Regions from separate parts of the Homo sapiens genome. Here regions 1 and 3 are each linked to region 2. The links are contacts of gene promoters, found by promoter capture Hi-C in human tissues and cell types (Jung and others, 2019). All regions are on one chromosome and are shown on one strand. Each heading gives the region's core, a stretch centred on a gene start or on the middle of the fragment in contact. The rest is flanking DNA. Distances are from core to core; before and after follow the strand shown.

What was found. Contacts are between HindIII fragments. The study calls those that stand out against the background at their distance.
Region 1: a contact is called between the fragment with the promoter of SNX32 here and a fragment that was not itself captured in region 2, in 1 of the 25 tissues and cell types used here (hippocampus).
Region 3: a contact is called between the fragment with the promoter of AP5B1 here and a fragment that was not itself captured in region 2, in 1 of the 25 tissues and cell types used here (spleen).

What each region holds. Positions count from the first base shown.
Region 1 is chr11:65,832,587-65,835,286 of GRCh38, reverse strand. It overlaps SNX32 (sorting nexin 32), which reads right to left and starts at 1,324. Exons shown (of 13, transcript NM_152760.3): 1 at 1,186-1,324. The coding sequence starts at 1,221. It overlaps LOC124902693, which reads left to right and starts at 1,488. Exons shown (of 7, transcript XM_047427980.1): 1 at 1,488-2,700. The coding sequence starts at 1,776. RefSeq lists an enhancer at 1,243-1,332 and silencers at 1,257-1,469, 1,643-1,772. The HindIII fragment of the contact is 13,089 bases long and covers 1-2,700 here.
Region 2 is chr11:65,499,468-65,502,167 of GRCh38, reverse strand. MALAT1 (metastasis associated lung adenocarcinoma transcript 1) reads right to left here. Exons shown (of 1, transcript NR_002819.5): 1 at 1-2,700. It also overlaps TALAM1. Among named protein-coding and RNA genes, the nearest start is that of MALAT1, 1.8 kb to the right of the region's middle. RefSeq lists an enhancer at 1,600-1,729. The HindIII fragment of the contact is 4,315 bases long and covers 1-2,700 here.
Region 3 is chr11:65,779,551-65,782,250 of GRCh38, reverse strand. AP5B1 (adaptor related protein complex 5 subunit beta 1) reads left to right here and starts at 1,275. Exons shown (of 2, transcript NM_138368.5): 1 at 1,275-1,809; 2 at 1,909-2,700. The coding sequence starts at 1,660. RefSeq lists enhancers at 1-561, 1,291-2,193 and silencers at 822-1,561, 1,602-1,781, 1,932-2,201. The HindIII fragment of the contact is 21,769 bases long and covers 1-2,700 here.

The DNA.
Region 1 (2,700 bases), core at 75-2,574, 330 kb before region 2:
AAGAGTGACAGTGACGGGTCCCTTTCCATCTGTAAGGACAAAGGCAAAACCCTGCCTCCCTTGGCATCCTCATCAGTCCGCACACAGGTGCCACAGAGGCTCCCCACTCCCTTGCTCAAGTCTCCTTTCTCTCACTTGCGCAGACACACACATACACACAGAGACACATGGGCACATACACACACACAGACACACGAGACAAACACAGACACACGCACACACAGACACACATAGAAACACACACAGATACACAGACACACACAAACACACAGGCACAGAGAAACACACACACAGACACACACAACGACATACACAGATCATACACAGGCACACAGACACACACAGATGCACACACAGACACACTGACATAGACACACACAGATATACAAAGACACACGGATACAGACACACACAGACACATGCAAACACACACACAGACCCAGAAATACACAGACACACACACACAGACACACGCAGACCATACACACACACAGAGACACACACACACAGACATAAAGATGCACGCAGACCATACATAGACACAGAGACAGACACACACTCAGACACAAAGAGACACAGACCTGCGCAGACACACACAGGCACATGCGTGCACACACAGATACACACAGAGACACACACAGATGCATACATGCACACATGCAGACCATACACACAGACAGACACAGACACAAAGACACACGCAGACCATACACAGACACAGACACACAGACACACACACACAGACATGCACAGACACACACAGAGACAGACACAGACATGCACGCACAAACACCCACATGGACGCATACGTGCACACACACAGACACACACAGGCCATACACACACACACAGAGACACGGAGACACACAGACACACACACAGATACACAGAGACACACAAAGACACAGACACACACTGAGACACACACAGACACACAGACACACAGAGACACAAATACAGACATACACAGATACACACACACACAGACATATGCAGGCACATCGACATACACACAGACACACAGAGAAACAGACACATGCAGACTATACACACACAGACACACACAGAAACACACAGAGGCAGACCACACACACACAGACACACACACACCACCGCATGATTGGGCATCACGGGCTTTCATGGAGTGAGGGGAGGCTGGGGTGGGGGTCTTCATCCTTTCTCTACCTTGCCCTCCTTCCCAACCTCCGCATACGTCTCCATCGCTCTCCTGGGCTTCAGCGTCCGGCCACTGCCCGCGTGCTCCCGCAGGTCGTCCCCGTAACTCGCCCGAGGAACTGACCGAGTGAGGATGCTCTCAGCTGACGGGGACGCTCTCCCCCGCCCGGCCAAGGAGTCGCCTGGAGTCGGGGGCGGTTCCCACCGCGTTTCCCTCAGCCACGCCTTTCGATTGGGTAGCGGGGCACCGCGCGTGACGCCATTGGCTGCATTGTCTGTCGTTCCTGTCCCAGGCCCCAGCTTTTAAGGGACACGCGGCACGGAGAGTGGGCCGGTGATAGGCGACAGTGTGGGAGCTGGGGTCAGAGTTCATAGGGTCGCAGAGGCCGCGTGCCGCGTCTCCCTCCAGTCCCCGGGGGACTGACCCCCACAACAACCCCGTGCCGCCGTTCCGGGCCCCTCCTTCCAACGGCCACGTGCGGCCTGCGCGTGCGCACTCGCCCAGTTTGGCGCCCACCAGGCAGTGGGGAAGGGGAAGGGGAAGGGGAAGAGGGTGAGGGTGGCAGGGTGGGGACAGGGAATGGGAAGCAGTGGTGGGGATGTGGGTGGTGGACCAGGGGCGAGGGCAGGGGACAATGTCTGTGGAGAAGGGGGGTCTGTTTAGGTTTCCGCTCTTGGACGGGAGGGAGCGGCGGGGTAAGCAGCCTAGGAGGACTAGGGAGCTCCACAAGTCCCGCGGCCAGGGCGCCCCAAGCGAGGCCGGGGTCCGCGAACGGTCGCCACTGGAGCGGGGCTGCAAGGGGGTGCCGATGCTGCGAGAGAAAACCTGGGGACCTTGGAACGGGCTCATGGTAATTGGGAAGAGAGTGGAGCTCCTGACTAGAAACACTCGAAAGCCGAAGCTGGAGTCTGAGTACTGGAGACTGGAAGATGTGGAAAAGACGGTCTTGAAAGGGAAGTCAGGCCCGAGTCAGGAAAGGATGGATGTGAAGCTGCTATACCGTGGAGCAAGTGCATCACAAGCTTCAGCAGATTTGGGGAAAGACAGCCCAAGGGGTATTTGGGGAAAGCAAGAGGTCAAACACGAAATAAAGGCTAAATCTAAGAGTGCAGGGATGACAGCAGGGCCTATGAAGGGGTCTGGGTTTGAAGAGAGGTTGAGGTCTGCTGGGGAGAAGGTAGGGACCAGTGGAGAGGACTTGAGATCCAATGGATATAAACTGGGACAGGATGAGAAGGGGTTGAGGTCTAGTGTAGACAAGATGAGATCAAGTGTAGAGAAGCTGAGGTCTACTAGTGAGAAGCTGGTGTGCAGGGGAGAGAAGCAGGGGTCCAGTGGAGTGAAGCTGAGGTCCAGTGGCAGAAAGCTGAGATCAAGTGGAGAGAATTTGAGATCAAGTAGAGAGAAGCTGAGATGGAGTGGAGAGAAGCTGGGAACTAGTGGAGAGAAGCTGGGAACCAGTGATGAGAAGCTGAGGTTGAGTGGAGAGATGCTGAGATCAATCAGAGAGAAGCTGAGGTTGA
Region 2 (2,700 bases), core at 86-2,585:
CCCAAAAGCTCTATACTTTGAAGGAAAACAGATACAGTATCAAATTATGACACTTTCCTTGCCCAAATTAATGCACTGGTACACCCAGTGGCTCATATTTAACTTCCCCCAGCTTCCCAATTCAAACTGGGGGGAAAAAAACTAAATCATTGGGAGTTACTTGCCAACTTGGAAGTTGATATTTCTTTACTTTTTCCATTCTAAGACTTTAAGTTCTCTGGCATGAGTTTATCTGCAATCATAAACTAAACAATTACCTAAACCCACCCCACCAATCCCAACCGTAACAGGCCACTGCCAACTAATTGCCAATATTTGCCCCTCCCCTTTAATAAAACTTTTAAGAAGTCACATTATTGGAAAACTTAACTTCAACATTTGGCCTACTCAAGCTCTTCTGAAGTTCTCCTGAGATGACTGAATATGAACCAAAGCTGCACTGTGCTGTACTTTTCAGCTTCAACTGGGAATACTCTTCCAAGGATAAAAGCAGCTCCAGTCCCTGAAGGTGTTCGTGCCAACAGCACAGCGGTACACTCCTTCTCTAACCCAGTTTGTCAATAGTACTATAGCATCTGTGGAAAATCTTAGAAAAAAACATTTTCTCCCCCACCCTCTCTCTTCCCTGTTAAGACCATCCCAAAATGCTTCAAGTAAAAAATAACAAGTTTAAGGGGTTAAGCACTTTTAAAGTCTGATTAAGGGGGTGGGGGGAAAAAAGAGTAACTACCAGCCATTTCTCCAATGGACATCTCTTCCACAGACCTCAACGTGAGAACTGCTCTAGTTTCTATAAACTGTAAACCTGTGGTGGTCTGATTATCCTGATATTGGATTTTCTTGTTTTCTGTTACACCTTGAGTCATTTGCCTTTAGGATTCTAGACAGACCTAAGGGAAAAAGAACTGAAAACATATTTTGCCCCCACCCCCACAAAAAAAAATACTGAAAACTCCCCCCCGCCTCAGTTACACATCCAAACTCTACATTTACAAAACGAATTCAGGGTGAGGAAGTAAAAACAGGTCATCTATTCACAAAACTGAAATACTTCATTACCCCAACTAAACATACAAACTGCTTACAGATTTGCTGAAATTGTCTCAATTTGGCTATCAAATTCATTTGGTTTTCCTCAAATTCGTGTAAAAAAAAAAAACCCACAAACTTGCCATCTACTATTTCTCCAGGACTTGGCAGTCTGCCCTCAAAAGCTTCAGACAAGATTCATGAGTATAAGCCTGAAAAAGAGAAACCTACAACACCCGGAAATCGGCCTACGTCCCCATATAAATCCCTTTACACCTCAGTACGAAACTCCCCCATTATATTAGAAAATAAATAAAAGGTTACCATAAGTAAGTTCCAGAAAAACAACATATTGCCGACCTCACGGATTTTTACCAACCACTCGCTTTCCCTGTGGCCTTGGCACACTGGCATGCTGGTCTAGGATCCTCTACGCACAACGCCTGCTCGCCTCCTCCGTGTGGTTGCCAAGCCAAGCCGCCTGCTACCTTCATCACCAAATTGCACTCGCTCCTTCCTGGAATCCTTTTTCCTAGCTTCACCACCAAATCGTTAGCGCTCCTTCCTTCTTCCTAGCTTCCTTCACCAAATCGCACTGGCTCCTGGACTCTTTTCCTATCTTCACCACGAACTGCTGCTTGCTCGCTTGCTCCTCAGTCCTAGCTTCATCAAACACTGGTTCCTGGAATCCTGTCTGCTGCTGTCTTCCTAGATTCACTGAATCCACTTCTGTGTAGCACCTGGGTCAGCTGTCAATTAATGCTAGTCCTCAGGATTTAAAAAATAATCTTAACTCAAAGTCCAATGCAAAAACATTAAGTTGGTAATTACTCTTGATCTTGAATTACTTCCGTTACGAAAGTCCTTCACATTTTTCAAACTAAGCTACTATATTTAAGGCCTTCCAAATTCTTCTAACTCTTCCAAAAGCCTTCTGCCTTAGTTTTTTTTAAATTACACCAGTCCTTTTAGTAGCTTTTTGATGTGATTTTTAACCAACTTCCCCTTCTAGCTTCAAGTATTCTTCTAAATTGGTTCTGGTCTACGTAAACACCCTCATCTTCTCAAGCTTTACCTTCTAACTTCTGCACCACCAGAAATTAAATTGATGGGCTTTTAAAATAAATTGGTTACCAATAATTTCCTCATTTTTTCAGTGCTATTTTATCCAATTTTTGGCTTTATATTTTTCTATCTTCTATACTTCTCCAATACTTGTCTTAGCTTGTTTTTCATTTTCTATCTGAAACTCTTGACAATATTTTCATTTTCTATCTTGTTTCTATCTTCCAATTTTCTTCTAAGTTTGTACATTTTGCCCTTAGCTTTTTGTTTCCTAGCTTGTCTTTTTTCTTCTGCTTCCTACTTTTCAGGTTTAAATTTATCTTTTTTCTTCTAAAAGTATGTTTTTATCTTCTAATTTCCCTATCTTCTCTATTCTTTTCTTCGCCTTCCCGTACTTCTGTCTTCCAGTTTTCCACTTCAAACTTCTATCTTCTCCAAATTGTTTCATCCTACCACTCCCAATTAATCTTTCCATTTTCGTCTGCGTTTAGTAAATGCGTTAACTAGGCTTTAAATGACGCAATTCTCCCTGCGTCATGGATTTCAAGGTCTTTTAATCACCTTCGGTTTAATCTCTTTTTAAAAGATCGCCTTCAAATTATTTTA
Region 3 (2,700 bases), core at 26-2,525, 280 kb before region 2:
GGGGAAACTGAGGCACCTAGAGGGAAGTAGTTTGGGGCTGCTGCCTGTGAGTCAACTGTGGAGCCAGGGCCTAGAGGAGCCGGGACCGGGCCTTCTGGCTGGACCTGTCCCTCCGAGTGGGTCTCTATCTCTCCATCCCCAAGGGCACCCAGACAGCCTCCTTTTTGGCACTCTCCACCCCTCAACTCTCCACCACCTCCCATCTGGAGCAGGATGGGGTAGGGAGAGGCCAGCTGGCACTGGCTTGCATGGGGGCTCAGGCCTGTTTCATCTTCAAAGCGGCTAATTGGAGCCAGAGGGGTGGTGAGGTTTGGGCGCCGGCGGTTCTGTGCCCTGGAAACCGGTGGTCTGTGGGGCACCTGCAACCTGGGCCTCTGGCCTGGGAGAGACCGCCGCCCAGACCCCCGAATGCCCCCAAACAGCCAGAATCCAGCCCACTGAAGTCTGGAGTGCTGGGTTCCGGCCCGGCTTGGCCCCAGATCTCGGTTGGCAAGGCCGCCCTCCTCCTGGGCCTGTTTTCCCCATCGCTAGGCATGCCTCGAGCCCCGTGACCGGCCAGGCCCTGACAGCCCGCACTTCCCGAGTATGGATCCCGTTGTTTTCGACTTAGGGCCCTGCCCCGCCCTCGCCGTCACGACCCCTGCGGGCCGCCAGCGCGGCCTCGGGCAAACAAAGGTCAGAAGCTCCTGGCTGGCCGCAACCGCGGCGCCGGCTCCTCGCCCCCAAGCCGAGCGGGCTGGGGGCCCGGGCAGGCGTCAGGGAAGCGAAGCCAAGCCCTGCGGCGCCCGCCGGACCGGTTCAGCTGGGGCGCTTTTCCTGCGGGCGCCCTGCGACCGCACCTTGGTCACCCCCAGGGGCCACTCCGGGAGCCCCAGGACCCGCACCCACGCCCCCCGGGGCCGCGCGTCTGGCGCAGGGTGCGGTGTGCCCGGGCGCCGGCGGGGGGCGCGCTGGCTGCCGCCCTGCGCGGCTTGGCGGGCGCTGGTGGGACCGGGCCGCTGTCCGCCGAGGGCCGCGGGATCGCAGCCCTGCGCCGCGGTACCCGGCATCTGGGGCCCAGGCCCACCCCGCTCCGCCACCCCTACCCACTCCCCTCCGCCTTTCCTGCCCCGGCCTGCGGCGGTTTCGGGGAAGGGGGCCTGCGCGGCGGGACAGTTAGTCAGCCCCCGCGAAACCTGCGAGTCGACACCTGCGGGAGGCGGTGGCCCCGTTACGCCCCGCCCCTCCCCGCCCGGACTCGGCCGCCCCCGCGCCGCGCCCCGCCCCGCGCCGCCAGCCCGGAAGGAGCCGGCCGGCCTGAGTGCCCGCGGCGGCTGAGTCAGGCGGCGAGCGCGGCCCGTTACCGCCGGCGCCGGGGGCCGGGGTGGCGCTGTGGTTTCGGTGCGGGCCGCGGGCGGGAGGGAGGCGGCCTAACGAGCTCTCGGCACGCACCCTCCCCCGCCCTGCTCCTGTCCTGTCCCGCGAGGGCCCCGGCGCCCAGCTCTGGCGTCGGCCCCGAGAGCCCTGGTCTCACCGTGGGAGCCGGGCGCGGGTCCCGCCGGCATCTGCGCGGCGTCTGGGGGTGACCGCAGCCCCTCGGGGTCGGCAGCGGGCCCCGCGCTCCCGGTGGCTGCGGCCTGAGGGTCCCTCTTCCCTGCGCAGGGGCCCGCGCGCCTCACCATGGGGCCCCTGAGCCGGGACGCCTGGGCCCAGCGCTTGGGGGCCTTCCGGGCCAGCCCGTCTGCCTTCATGGCAGGTCCCGAGGGGGAGGATTTGGGTCGCGACCTGCTGAGCGACCTGAGAAGTGAGAAGCTGAGCGAACAGACCAAGGTAGGCCCCCACGCGTCCCCTGCGCCGTTCCGCAGGGTCACCCCAGCCCGCCGCGTCATGAACCTCATCTTCGTGATTCCCTCCTAATCCCCCATCCAGGTTTCCCTGCTGGCCCTGAGCATGGAGTACCCTGCGCAGCTGTGGCCCGACGCCTCTGCGGCCGAAGTGGCCGCCACCTCCCTGTTGGACACCTTGGTCCTCCTACCCCCGCGGCCCTCAGCTCTCCGTCGGCCACTGCTGCTGGCGGCCACCACTGCCCTGGCGGCGGGCGGCGCGCTGGGCCCCACCTCGGGCGCCTCCTGCCGGCTCCTGCCCCTACTGCTCGGCCTGGCCGCGGGTAGCGATCTGGGGCGAGGCTTTGTCCCCGCCTCGGAACAGCGCCCCTTGCAGGCCACGGCCTGCGAGTGCCTGCGAGAGCTAGAGAGCTGCAAGCCCGGGCTGCTGGGGGGCTCCCTGGGGTTGCTGCGGGGCCTGCTGGGGCAGGAAGGCCCTGTCCAGCCACTCAGCCTGTTGCTGGCCCTCGCTTTGCGCAACACCTTGGTGCTCCAGTCCCGGGTTGGGGCTGGCCTGGGGGGACTGCTCACGGATAAGGTCTCCCCAACTGGGGGTGGTCCCTGGGATTGGACACTAGTGGAGGAGGGCGATGGACGCCTTCAGCCCCAGGCACCCAGCTGGCCGGCAGCTGAGGAGGGAGAGGGGGAGCGTAGCCTTACAGCACGAGAGCACAGCCCTGAGGAGGCGCGGGAGCTGCGGGCTGCGGTGATCCAGCTTCTGGACACCTCCTATCTGCTCACTCCTGTGGCCCAGGCCCAGCTCCTGTGGCTGCTGGGCTGGGCCCTGCGGGGTCTGCAGGGACAGCCACCGGCACTCTTCAAGCCGCAGCTGGTACGG